2 separate regions of the Homo sapiens genome follow, and region 1 is linked to region 2. Evidence: promoter capture Hi-C in 16 types of primary human blood cells and fetal thymus (Javierre and others, 2016). All regions are on one chromosome and are shown on one strand. Each heading gives the region's core, a stretch centred on a gene start or on the middle of the fragment in contact. The rest is flanking DNA. Distances are from core to core; before and after follow the strand shown. Region 1 has its middle 35 kb from the start of GSPT2. Region 2 holds the start of GSPT2 (G1 to S phase transition 2).

Region 1 (6,525 bases), core at 1,809-4,308, 35 kb before region 2:
AGCTGGAGTGCAGTGGCATGATCATGGCTCACTGCAGCCTCAACTTTCTGGCCCCAAGTGATCCTTCCATCTCAGCCTCCTGAGTAGCTAGGACCACAGGTTCATGCCATCATGCCTGGCTAATTAAAAAAAATTTTTTTGTAGAGACGAGTTCCTGCTATGTTGCCCAGGCTGGTCTTGAGCTCCTAAACCAAGCTATCCTCCCATCTCTGCCTCCCAAAGTGTTAGAATTACAGGCATGAGACACTGCGCACATACAAAATTTCAAAATTTGAAGTATTTGAAGATCCTGAAGTAGCTAACAAGTGGAATTTGTCAGCTAACCACACTTTTCTCAGTTGGATGGCAAGTCCCACTTTAAAGGATTCCAGAGGTGCATCTCCATATGTGCCGCAGCATCATGATCTAAGCCACCATCATTTCTCATTTGAGTAATTGAGTAGCCTTTTACCTAATTTCCCTATCACTGTAGTCCCTCACCTTCCACTCTTGAGTCAGTACTCCTCACAACAGCCAGAGAAATCCTGTTCAAATGTAAGTTAATTTCCTACTTTGCTCAACAATCTCCAATGGCTCTCCACCTTGCTCAGATAAAAAACTTACTACAATGAACATCAAGGGCTCACATGATCAAATGACGGCATTTTCTATTTTTCCACAGGTCATATATCAACTTTTCAGAGAGACCTTGACTATCATACCAAAAATGGCACCCACTCTAATTCTCTATCACCATACCATGTTTATTTTACACGAAATCTTATCAGTACTAAACCTCATATAGATCTATTAATATATAAATATACACTAACATGAACATATGTAAAACAAAATGTAAAGTCTGAGAGAATACAAATTGTATCAGGTTTGTTCTCTGCCGCATCCCTACCTTCCAGAACAATGTGCAGTTTCTAGGAGTTGCTCAATAAATATTTGTTAAGGGACTTAGTCATTTCTTATGTTATCTTTTCTGACTAAAATGGAATCTCCATGAGGACCAGGACTTGGACAGTTTTAACTTTGGATCCTAGATCAATGCAATAATTATTTGTAGAATAAAGAAATGATGAATACTGAGTGCCCACAATGTACTAGGCCTCCTAATAGATGCTGGGCTATAGCAATAAGCAAAGAAGACTGGTATCTACCCTTAAAGATATTAAATAAATAAACAGTAACACAAACAAATGTATATTACAAATTAGAAAAGTGTATATAATGGGAAAAACCTAACACACTATCAGAGAATACACCCAGATTTTGCCGAAGGAGTTGGGAAAACATCCTAAAGAAAGTGATATTTATGCTGAGAACTTCAAGATGGGGAGGGGCTAGCAAGGTCAAGGAGGTGAAGAGAACAATGTTCTAGGCAGAAGGAATAGTATGTGCAAAGTGCCTGTGGCAGGAAAGAAAATGGAATGTTGATAAACTGGAAGAAGATCAGCATGTGTATATGCCAATGTCCTCCAGCCAAAGAGTGCCAGGAATGCACAAGTAGTTAAATAAGTTGGGTTTACTATTCATGGCAATAAAGGACAATGCATGTCAGGAAGAACAATGGTGTTTCAGAAAGATCATGATAGAAAGAATCTGTTATGGGATTTGGGATTTGATTGGGTGATTCTGGTATTTATGTCTATCTGGAGAACAACATGGTCTAGCCATCGGCAAGAGGCCATGCTACTAGCAACATGGAAGCTTAATTGTAAGTGTCATACCAGTGCCCAGATGTCAGGGACAAATTTTTCCCCATATGACTCAAAAGCAGAGAGATTTGGACACAACTGGCACAAGATCCTGGAGAGGTAGGCAGGGCCAGGCTATGCAGGGCCTGGAAGACCATGAAGACCATATTAGTGGAGTTGACTTTGATGCAAATTGCAAAGGGAAGCAGAGAACTTGCGCACTCTGATGAGGTTTAGTACTGATAAGTTTAAATCTATGTGTCAAGAATGGTAGAGGGCCTATGATTTTAACCTACTTGCAAGTTTACAAGTTCATTTGCCACAGATTGACATTCTGGCAGAAGACAGAAACCCTCTGGGTCAGAGGCAAAGGACTTTATTCCTTTCAACAAAAGTAGTTGCCAGAGCCTCCTGTTTGCACTGGCTCTGTATGCCCTCCAAGCCCCACGGGGGTGATGAAGGTGGACTTGCGTGGATGCTCACACTTGCTGAGAATTGTGTTACAAGAGAGGAACACTGAGCTTGGGAGATCCTATGTCTTTCTTGGGAGTGGGAGCAATCATGCTCTCTGTGGGGGGTGTTACCTCATCCCTCAAGCATCCCTGTTTGTTGCTCACTAAAAGAGAACTCTGAGAAATCTCCCAGGTAAAGAGTGGGGGACTTTGAATTATTGGTGTACTCCGCAAAAGCATAAAGGAATGCTCAGGGCTCCCAGCAGATTTCCTCTCCCAACACTGTGTCTTTAAAACATTAACATTTGGAGAACTGGCTCATTACCATGGAGAAAACTGACACTGAATCACTGGCCTACACTATATATGAATCATCCCTATCACTCCACAAACATGTTATGATCTCTCCCCTGTTAACCTCCACACCCCCTCTGGCTACCACCCCCCCACCCCACCACCCTATAAATGGAATGCGAGGAAGGGAACATACCCTGGAGTATCTCGGATGAGCAGAGCATGGACAGGGATGATGGCACTATGGTGAATGAAAAGAAGAGCTACCCAAACCCATAAGGAAGGCAGAGCAGGTAGAGGCAAAGAGGCTGGTGTCCTGGGCTGAGGACAGGAAAGAAGTCTAAACCTATGAACACTCCTGTCCCATGGAAGCATGAAAATGGCACACCAACAGGTGTTCTTAGTTTGAAGACAGGGTGTGTTTCTGGTGCAAACTGGACAATACCCAGAAGATAGGCACCAACTCTTCCAACCAACTTCCAAGCCTGACCCTTAGGGAAAACCTCACCCTGCATTTCCTAAGGGAGACAGATCTCCCTGATATATTGGTTGCCTTGGGGACTCAGGGCCATGACCCTGCTTCTAGGAACCACAGGTGCCTCACCGGGACCAACTTCTTCCCAGTTGGATTCATAACGGTCAGGTACTTTGTTGTGAACTGACTGAGATGATCTGCAGGTGGGTGGCCTAGTTGGACTTTATGGATGGATGAGACAATTCCTCTCCTACTAAAGAAAGAATAGCCCTGTTTAATCTGGTGTTCCATGATTCTGTCTCTTGTGATGTTGCCATGTGTTGATGATATCAACTTTACACTATTTCATAAGGTATTTCATAGTTTATATTTCATATGTAGCATTCACAAGTTGTTAACTGATCAAGTAATACCAATCATAGTCTCATTAATAATTTAATAGTGTCAATGAAGAGAGGCAGACTCTGTAAAATATTTGGAGAGATTTATTCTGAGCCAAATATGAGTGACCATGGCCCATGACACAGCCCTCAGGAAGTCCTAAGAACATGAGCCCAAGGTGGTCAGGATGCAGCTTGGTTTTATACATTTTAGGGAGACATGACACTTCAGTCAAATACATTTAAGAAATACATTGGTTCGGTCCAGAAAGGTGGGACAATTTGAACTAGCGGGAGGGGGCTTCCAGGTTACAGGTAGATTTAAAAATTTTCTGGTTGACAATTGGTTGAGTTTAATCTAAAGACCTGGGATCAATAGAAAGGAAATGTCTGGGTTAAGATAAAGAACTGTGGACACCAAAGTTCTTATTGTGCAGAGGAAGGCTTCAGAGAGAAAAGATTGTAAATGTTTATCAGACTTAAGGTCTGTGTTGATGTGAATGCCAGAGAGGTACAATGAGGCACGTCTGAACCGCACTTCCCATCATGGCCTGAACCAGTCCCTCAGGTTAAATTTTAAGTGTGCCCTGGCCTAGGAGGAAGTCCGTTCAGATGTTTTGGGGGTGGTGCTTAGAATTTTATTTTTGGTTTACATTCTCCTCCTTCTTGACAAGATTTGCCAGAGGCAACATCAATAGCCAGTAAATTTATTTGTTTATTTATTTATTTAGCCAGTAAATTTTTATTTTCTCTCATAGCGTTGCTGGGGTGGCAGGGCTGCCCTCCCTGGGTCCATCCTGTCCCTCGGTGGAAGTCCCTATGGCCAAGGACCTTAAGAGTAAAAAGACTTACAGCCAATTAATTGTTATAGGCCAGATAGGATGAACGTGGACAGGTATTTATTATCTCTTAAAATTATTATTATTTTAGGTAAAAAGCCAACAAACAAAAACCAAAGGCAAGGTTACAAAACTGACTGTAACTTTTATGCGTTGACCTACTATAAGTTTGGATTTAGTTACAGATTTGTAGCAATTAGCTATACAAATCATAAGCACTGCTCTGAAAAAAAAAGTTTTAATATATTTATCTTCTCAACTCATAACTGGGAGTATTATATCCAGGAAGCTTTATCACAAGGTATCTTTCTTGTGTCACAGATATTTTCTTTTAATTCTACAGGGAGCAAAAAATGCTTTATGGTTGGGGTGGATGCAAAAGTGACACATAATAGCTTAGAAGACAAAGTCCCTTGTTTTACCAGCTCTTTAGGCATCTTTGTATCTATCCTTGCTTTGGAGGGTCTGATCTTGACCTAATTTTATTCCTCAAAACCAGCCCTTACTATCTCTCACACCCACGTCTTCTGTGACGATCCCTGGGCCTGGGGGGATGGTGCTTGCATCGTTTTAGCAGTAGGGCATTTGCAGTGAAAAACAGATCAGACCCAGTGGGATGCCAAATGAGGGAGATTTGCATCTCTGGTCTTCAGAAAACCATGATTTGGGTTTCCTTGGAAGTAAAACAAGGAGAGATAATAACATTAATGTTTTGACAATCAAAGAATTTTTGTGTGTTTGAACAGAAAAAGGAACCTATTCCATTAGGGCACCAACTAAAGATATGAAGAAAAATTATAATCTAGTACTCTGTAGAGGATTATTGTAGCCAAGAAATAATTCATGATTCAATCTGCACTTAAAAAAAGAAAAGTTAGGGCTGAAATCTAGTATCAAGTGTTACGCTTTTCCTTGGAAACAATTTCTTTTACTCTAGCCCTCCTTTTCTATTAAAGAGAAATTATAGTAAGACCAATTTGTGTGCGAACTAGGTTTTAGGCTTATTATACTTGGCCTGATTATTTGCATAAAATGTAACAAGAATTGATTGGCCATATAAGCTCCTTTTAAGTTGGCTTTGCTGGAACTTTACCTAAAATATGCTATTTTAGTTAAAGTCTTGGTAAAATAACCAGTGTCTCCAATTGTTTTGTTTTAAAAGACTATTACTAAATTTATGCAAGTAACTATATTGTCATGAAATCACAACCCGAATTCTGGAGAACTCAGGTACAGAGAAAGGTAAATTTGCTTACAAAAACATACTTCACCCAAATAACTCAAAAGAAAACGATTTTTTTTTTATCCTTCTTTAACCAGAGCAGCAGCTTTCAAACAAGATGTTTGTTCACCTTGGAAATGCCATTCGCAAACCAAATAACTCATGGGAGCTGTCTATCAGGCACTGTAGAATCTAGCAGATCCTCACATAGTGAGAATTAGTCCTAGGGAAAAAAGAAGCTCTCTGCTTATAAGTTTCTCCTCCTTGTATCCCCAGGTAGCAAGATTCTATGTAAACCATTTTTTATTTTACTCTTTGGGGCACCATTATTTTCATTCAGCATAGGGGTAGCTTCAGTTAACATTTCATAGCAAGGCAGTAAATGTTCCTCAAGTGGAAATTCTCTAGTTCAGTCTTTGTCATTGGAAAGTACAGCCTTGTTGCATTAAGCCCCAATAAATACTTCATAAAGGGCTATAAAGTGGAGGATTTGTCTCAACTAGCACTCCACCCTTTAGGCTATATTTTGTGGGCTCAGGGAATCATACTACTTTTCATTTAGTGAGTCCAAGCAACAGTTCTCAAAGAGCAGATGTACATGTCTTCAGTTTTATAGTACTAGATAGGGGAAAAATCCCCCAGTTAGATACAATACTTATTTTCGTAAGACATTTAGGTAAAGGGGTTACAACTACTTTACATAAAGCCTGTGTAAACATCTTAAATTTCATAATTCTATTAACCTGTATGTTTTTGTGTTCTGATCCCAGGAACTTGTTTTACTATCCCCAGATCATTTTACTTTTTCTAGTGAAAAAGGATTTGTGTTCCCAGCAGGGAGTTGCATCTGTAAAACCCATGAGGTACAGTAAACTTGATAAGGCTTCTCAGACAGTTGTATGATTCTGCAGGAGGGGCACCCATGTAAAAGGGCTCCCCACTTAACCCCCAAATTTACCATGACCAGGGTAATAGGCACATTTGGTAGGAGGATATCCCAGTTATCATAAAGCTGGTCCCACATGGCTTGCATATGAAGCATACTAACTGCTTCATCTGGGGTTCTCCACTTGGTATTTTATAGGGAGAGCTGGGTAGTCCCCTCTCAGGGCAAACAGAGCTTACAGTGTCATTTATCCAGTCCACTAGGCTGGTTGTTCTCTCCTCCTGTGCATTGA
Region 2 (6,609 bases), core at 3,839-6,338:
ATAAGTTGGCCCCTTTCCTTAAATCTCCTCAGACTTGTCCCATAATGACCAGAGGAATAAAGAAGGAAAATTGGGAGAAAAATTGCCAAGAACAAATGGGTAGACACTGAGAAAGCCTGAAGTAGGAACCTCATAAAGTACTTACAGTATGCAACCAGATTTGAGAAGATTCCATATTATCTTGGCTGCTAGGAATTGGAGATGAAACTCTGAGGACAGTTAAATCAAACTGACCTGAATTAGAGGAAATAGGGGATCTCTGAAAGGAAACTGCCCTGAACATGGTTTTTATAAATAGTTGGATGCCCTAGGGAAACTAGTACTCTGTGAATGGCCCCAATTTGGAGTATTGGAGAACACCATCAGATATCAACAACTATAAAGAAATGTATCCAGGAAGTTAGAAAGAAATGTTACCACGAATTTGTATCTACTTTGTTAAAGAGACAGTCCAGTATCTCCAAGCACCTGGATGATCTGCTTCTCACTGAAATGCAAATAATTGGTTTCTAAAATCTATTTCCAAAAATTGTCTTTTTCTCTGAAGGTTTTTGTATTTATATATAAACAGTTCAGAATGTCTGGTAGGGAAATTGCTAAACAATTGGCTAATGAGAAAGACATTTAGGAGCCAGTTTTTGATGGGAAATCATCCAAATTGGATGGAGACAAAGAGTTCTGTCCTGGCTTGTGGTTTTGGCCTATCAGTGGAACACAGCCACAAAATACTACTGGTAAATCACTAAAATTACAAAACAATGAGATTGATGCAGCAGCAAAAATAATTGCTTATAAAGTGGCTTCCAGGGCAAAACTTACCAAGTACTGGATGGTTTGTATTTTGTATGAGGTTCAGTGCATAGAGCTCTTATGATAAAAATAAAACTCTTGCCATTGACATTCTAATGATTAAAAAACTGGGTCCAAGACGTATGAGGCACATCCGTGTGGATTAGGTTAGCTTATGTATGACAAAATAAAAATCCTCATTTCCCACATGGGTGCCCTGAAGACCTATGGGCAGTACAGCCAAAATACTGATGCTCCAACAAGACCAGTGTGGCTATCTCTGACAGGTTAGACACCCTGGAGGTACATGTACACACAAAGGGACAATGTAGAAGGATACATTGCCTTTACCTGAGCATGAATGAGCCCAGGGTGTTGTGCCAGCAGTCCCCACACCTATTCAACTAGCTCATGAGTATGAGGTTTGACAGCAAAGCAAACTGTCTCTCTCTCCAGGTATACTGCTGTGCCTAAGGCACTACCCACTTAATAAGACAGAAGGTTCTTTAGTTGTTGACAGTTATTTGCAGGTTATAAGGCCACTCTCTTGCCAATAAATGTAGCCACCTCAGAATCCATAATTGGTGTTTTCCTCAAGAAGTTGTTCAGAGAAGTATCCAGTGCCTCTGACCCCAAGTGTAGGTCATGATCTGAATTTAAAAATGACTTCCCACCTTTCCTATCAACCCAAGCATGAAAGAGACAAAGGTGACATCATCTCATTTCCCAGCCCAGGAGTCACTAATCCTTAGTTTTTACTCAATGACCAAAGGCCCCATTGCAAGCATTTATCTTCTCAATAGCCATACCCCTTATTGGGTTGTGACCCATATCACAAGTTTCATGGTGAACAAAACCAAGAGCTGTGTTTGTTAAGATGATGGAGTACAGTTAAGAGTCTAGCCAAGGCTGGGCACAGTGGCTCACGCCTGTAATCCCACCACTTTGGGGGGCTGAGATGGGAGGATTGCTTGAGCCTGGGAGGTTGAGGCTGCAGTGAGCCATGACTGCACCACTGCACTCCAGCCTGGGTGACAGAGTGAGACCCTGTCTTTTAAAAAAATAAAGAGTCTTGTAAACCTATGGTCCAAATCTCCTATAATTTGGCCATGCTTAACGTGATGGGACCTGATGGAATACAGTAAGTCCTCACTTAACATAGTCCACTGGTTCTTGGAAATTGTGACTTCAAGTGAAATAACATCTAACAAAATGAATTTTTCCCCTTATCAATGTCATAACTAAACAACATTGAACAATGTCATAACTAAACAACATTGAACAATGTCATAACTAAACAACATTGAACAAGGTCATAACAACATTGAACAATGTCATAACAACATTGAACAATGTCATAACAACATTGAACAATGTCATACATTGTGCATTGTTGTACGATGTACACCTGCTGTACATTGTTTTGCTTAATGTTGTAGTCTTCAAGAACCTATGGATAATGTTACATGAACTACTGCTATACAAATAAAGACGGCCTGAGCCTTTCATTTTCAAATCACAAGTGGGGAAGCAGAAGAGCTCCTTTATTGACTGGACTTGGACAGAGAAAACAAAGCCCACTGGGAAGAGCCTTAACATACGTTTTTTTCTCAAAATTAAAATTATTCCTTTAATACACACTTATGCATTGTTTGTAAATTCCTCACTTAAAACAGTAAGTGGTGAAGAGTTTTTAAGTTTTTAAGTGATAGAACATATTCAACTATTTGAGAAAGTAATAAAGCTAATTGAATAGCATTACATAATGACATTTAAACATTATTCAAAAGCATTTCAAATAACCGAAGAGTTTCAAATGGAGTATTTTATTCACATGTTAGTTATCATTTTAACACACACACAAACACTGACACACTCTGGTTTGCGTGGAACAAGGGTGGTCTAAATATCCTAAAAGAAAATGAAAAATTAAAGTACATTAATTTTTCATTACTGTAGGCAATTACGTCCACATCACTTACAAAGCTATTACTGATATTGTCCAAGGAAGCAGAGTGGTACAGAGGAAGGAAACTTGAGGGTAAATTCATCAGTGACATAACAGATCTCAACATGAGAAAGCTGACAAAACATGAATTTTTGCTGTGAAATTTCTCTTTGCAAAATATGAAGAAAAGTCAATCAATGGGCAGTAAATAAGAGTAGGTGGTGAACTTTTGCTGTCAATTCTCCTCACAGTATCTTGCAGAGGCATCAAGAAAATTGCTTAGTCCTTCTCTGGGACCAATTTCAGAACTTTTCCAATTGCAATGGTCTTACCCTCATCTCTTAAAGTAAAACGACCCATCTGAGGAAAATCTTTGAACGTCTCGAGGCAGATGGTTCCTGCTGTCCTTAAACGAGCAATGCATACTTGATCTTGTTTCACGAAGCGGGGTCGTGTCTTACTTTTTTCTCCTGATTTTTTGTCTACCAAGGAGATTAACGCTGTTATCTCAACTTCCTCAATACAAGTATGAATGTGCAGCACCGCATTATAACCTGGGCAGATGATGGATTTGTGCTCAATAATCACTATCTGAACATCAAACGTGCGTCCAGAATGGCAGAGGTTACTAGGATCACAAAGTATGAATCCTGGAAGAATCTCTTCTTCTTCAATTCCCTTCAGTCTGATTTTGAGGTTTTCACCTGGGGCTACAAAATCAGTTTCAGTATCATCAGAAAGTATTCCAAGAACTTCTACATTGTGCTTGTTTGGCATCATCACGAGCTGCTGGCCTTTAAAAATGGACCCGGATTCCAGCTTTCCCAGGACCACAGTGCCCATATCTTTGTACTTATCCACAATTGGCAGTCTTATTGGTCCATCAATTGATCTGTTGAAGTTTGGCAAGTTATCCAAATACGGAATAAATGGTAATCCAGTGTACCAAGGGCAGAAATCTGACTGCTCTTTAATATTTGCTCCGGTCAGTCCTGAGCAGGGCATAAAGTGAATGTCCTTTTTTGGACTGAAGCCTACTTTTTTCAAAAAGGGCACCAGTTTTTCTTTACATTCTTCATATCTCTCGATGCTCCAATTTACTGTGGGATCATCCATCTTATTAATAAGCACTATTAAATGTTTTACCCCTGCCGTTTTTGCCAACATCGCATGTTCTCTTGTCTGTCCACCTTTTTCAAATCCAGTTTCAAACTCTCCTTTCCTGGCAGAGATGACCAGCACAGCCAAATCAGCTTGAGAAGCACCACCAATCATATTTGGGACAAAACTCTTGTGGCCAGGGGCATCTAAAATTGTGAAATGTTTCCTTTCTGTTTCAAAATAGGCACGACCCACTTCGACTGTTTTACCCTTGTCTCGTTCCTCCTGATTTGTATCTAAGGCCCAGGACAAATACCAGGTTTCTCTGTTTTTTTCCTTAGCTTCTCTTTCATATTTCTCCAGTGTTCTTTTGTCAACCATTCCAGTCAAAAACATTATCTGTCCTCCGATGGTTGACTTGCCAGCGTCTACATGGCCAATGAATACTACATTTACGTGTTCTTTCTTAGGTGCACCTGAGGGTACGATCACAGATTTGGATTTTCTTATTTCCTCTTTTTCCTCCATCATTTCCTGGCCACTTTCTTCTGGGGGCCCTGAATCTCCCGAGGAACCACCCCCAGGCTCGGCTTCACTTACTTCTTTACTGTGCTCCCATGATTCTTCTAGGGCCATTTCCACCTCTCCATTTTCTACAACAGGTTCTGAAAGTTCCATGGTAACGGCTGAATTGGAACCTTCAAGCGACACTAACGGTTCCTCTCGGGAAGGTTCCACAGGTGCCCCCCGTCCCATCCTTTTACCTTGAGGGTATCCCGCGCCGGTGCAGGTTTCATCGTTGCTGCCGGAGCCGGCCGGGAGGGTGGGCGGCTGAGTCGGGCCCCGCAGGAAGGACGGCACGAACTCCGCGGCGTGTACGTTAGGCACGAAGGGCTTGGCGTTGACGTTGAGCTTACGGCTGAAAGCCGAGCTGAGGGGCTCGCGCTGGGCCTCGGCCACCGCAGAGGAGACTCCATCCCCGCTCGGGGCCGACCCCGGGGATTCCATGTCCACCTGGTCCCAGCAATCGGGCGCCGAGTCGCTGCTGCTGCTGCCCGAATCCATGGTCTCGGAACTTGCTGTGTGGCAGTGAGGGAGCGGGCTCAACAGGCCAGAAGAGCGGGCTCCGCCGGCGGGGTTAAGGCAGCAAGAGCGAAGGGCCAAGGGGTAGCGACACGAACCTTAGCTGCACCGCGGAGGCAGCTAAGCGCCGATGCTGCATTCGCAACTGCGGCGGCAGCAGCAGATATGGCGGCTCAACACTCTCCTCTTGTGTGTGAGCGGATCTCCTCCCCCAAACCCCAACCACTTCCGACTCCTCCACCCCCGACCCAACGCCGGGCGTGGATTGACCCCTCGCTGCTATCCGTACGCTTGGCTTCCTTACTTCTTCTTAGCCACGGGCTAAGTCCAAAAGTATTATTTTTTAAAACGAAAATTTCCATTCACTTTTTTGTTCACACAGTCTGGCAGAGCAATTTGACCACAATCTGATGATTAAACCTAGACAGGAACACATGGTATACAATTCTACCAAAAGATTCAAGTAAAAGTGATCATTTCTATTGAACAAATGGGAGGCAAGATAAGGGTTAACTATACAGAAATTCAGAAACCCAGCAACTGAAGGGAGAGGCAAGGAATGGGTAGGGAGGGACTCATGAAATATATGAGTCTGTAGCCGAACTTAGGAAATGCAACTTAAGATCACTCATTAATTTGAAATCCACAGGCCTTTTGATTTTCCCTTTCCAGTGGGCCCCCATAAGCCTGTAACTTCTGCTGATGGCTTCTATAGTTTAAGGATAGGGTTACAACTTCTTTTCATGTTAAGCACCCTGGCTGTCTGAGGGGAGAGAATTTCCAAGGAGATCCTTGTTCCAGTGAAGCTTCCAGTCACTTCATATGCAGATGCCTGCACAATGGCTGGCCTGCCATTCAATGGTGGATCACGTAGACAAGCACAGGACTCAGATCACTCTTGTTTTACCAACCAACTGAATTCTGGGTTTATCTGCACTACTCCCCAGCACCTCCCTAGTACATCCTGCATCCACAGGCCTCGGGTTTTCCTGCTTCATTCCGGGGGGCCTGGAATCCTACTCACTGCACTGGCTTTGCTCTAAGAAACAATCAGTGTCATGTTGAACCCCTCTACAGTTTATGGTAATGAGACAGGGCTGTAGGTGTCAGCCTAATTAAACCAATTAAGACTTCTGAGATGAACAAAGACCTTAAGACCCTAATCAAAAGAATCTCACTCTCAGAAAGTGTTAACAGTTGAGTCAAAGCCTCAGCGACCTTGTTTGTAAATTAATTTAGTGCAAACTGACATAGAAAATACAAACTTATTCTCTGAATCTGTTTTTAGTCTTCATGTACTCAAATCTGTCACCTTTTGCTTTTATGAATTCAGGTTTTGTGACATACCTAGAAAGACTATTCAGTCCAAACAATCTGCTTAGTACAAGATGGTGTCACATAGATGGATTTATTTTTTTATTTTGAGACAAAGTTTCACTTTTGTTGCCCAGGCTGGAGTGCAGTGGCATGATCTCAGCTCACTGCAACTTCTGCCTCCTGGGTTCAAGCAATTCTCCTGCCTCAGCTTCCTGAGTAGCTGGGATTACAGGCGTCCGCCACCAAGCTCAGCTAATTTTTCTTAATATATATTTTTAGTAGAGACAGGGTTTCACCATGTTGGCCAGACTGGTCTTGAACTCCTGACCTCAGGTGATCCACCTGCCTCGGCCTCCCAAAGTGCTGGGATT

What was found. Contacts are between HindIII fragments. The CHiCAGO score rates a contact against its expected background, and 5 or more counts as called.
Region 1: a fragment that was not itself captured here is called in contact with the fragment with the promoter of GSPT2 in region 2 in 1 of 17 cell types (fetal thymus); the score reaches 5.2 in fetal thymus.

Annotation. Positions count from the first base shown.
Region 1 is chrX:51,775,221-51,781,745 of GRCh38, reverse strand. No RefSeq gene overlaps it. Among named protein-coding and RNA genes, the nearest start is that of GSPT2, 35 kb to the right of the region's middle. The HindIII fragment of the contact is 2,716 bases long and covers 1,701-4,416 here.
Region 2 is chrX:51,741,921-51,748,529 of GRCh38, reverse strand. GSPT2 (G1 to S phase transition 2) reads right to left here and starts at 5,088. Exons shown (of 1, transcript NM_018094.5): 1 at 2,298-5,088. The coding sequence starts at 4,903. The coding sequence ends at 3,017. The HindIII fragment of the contact is 6,668 bases long and covers 1-5,729 here.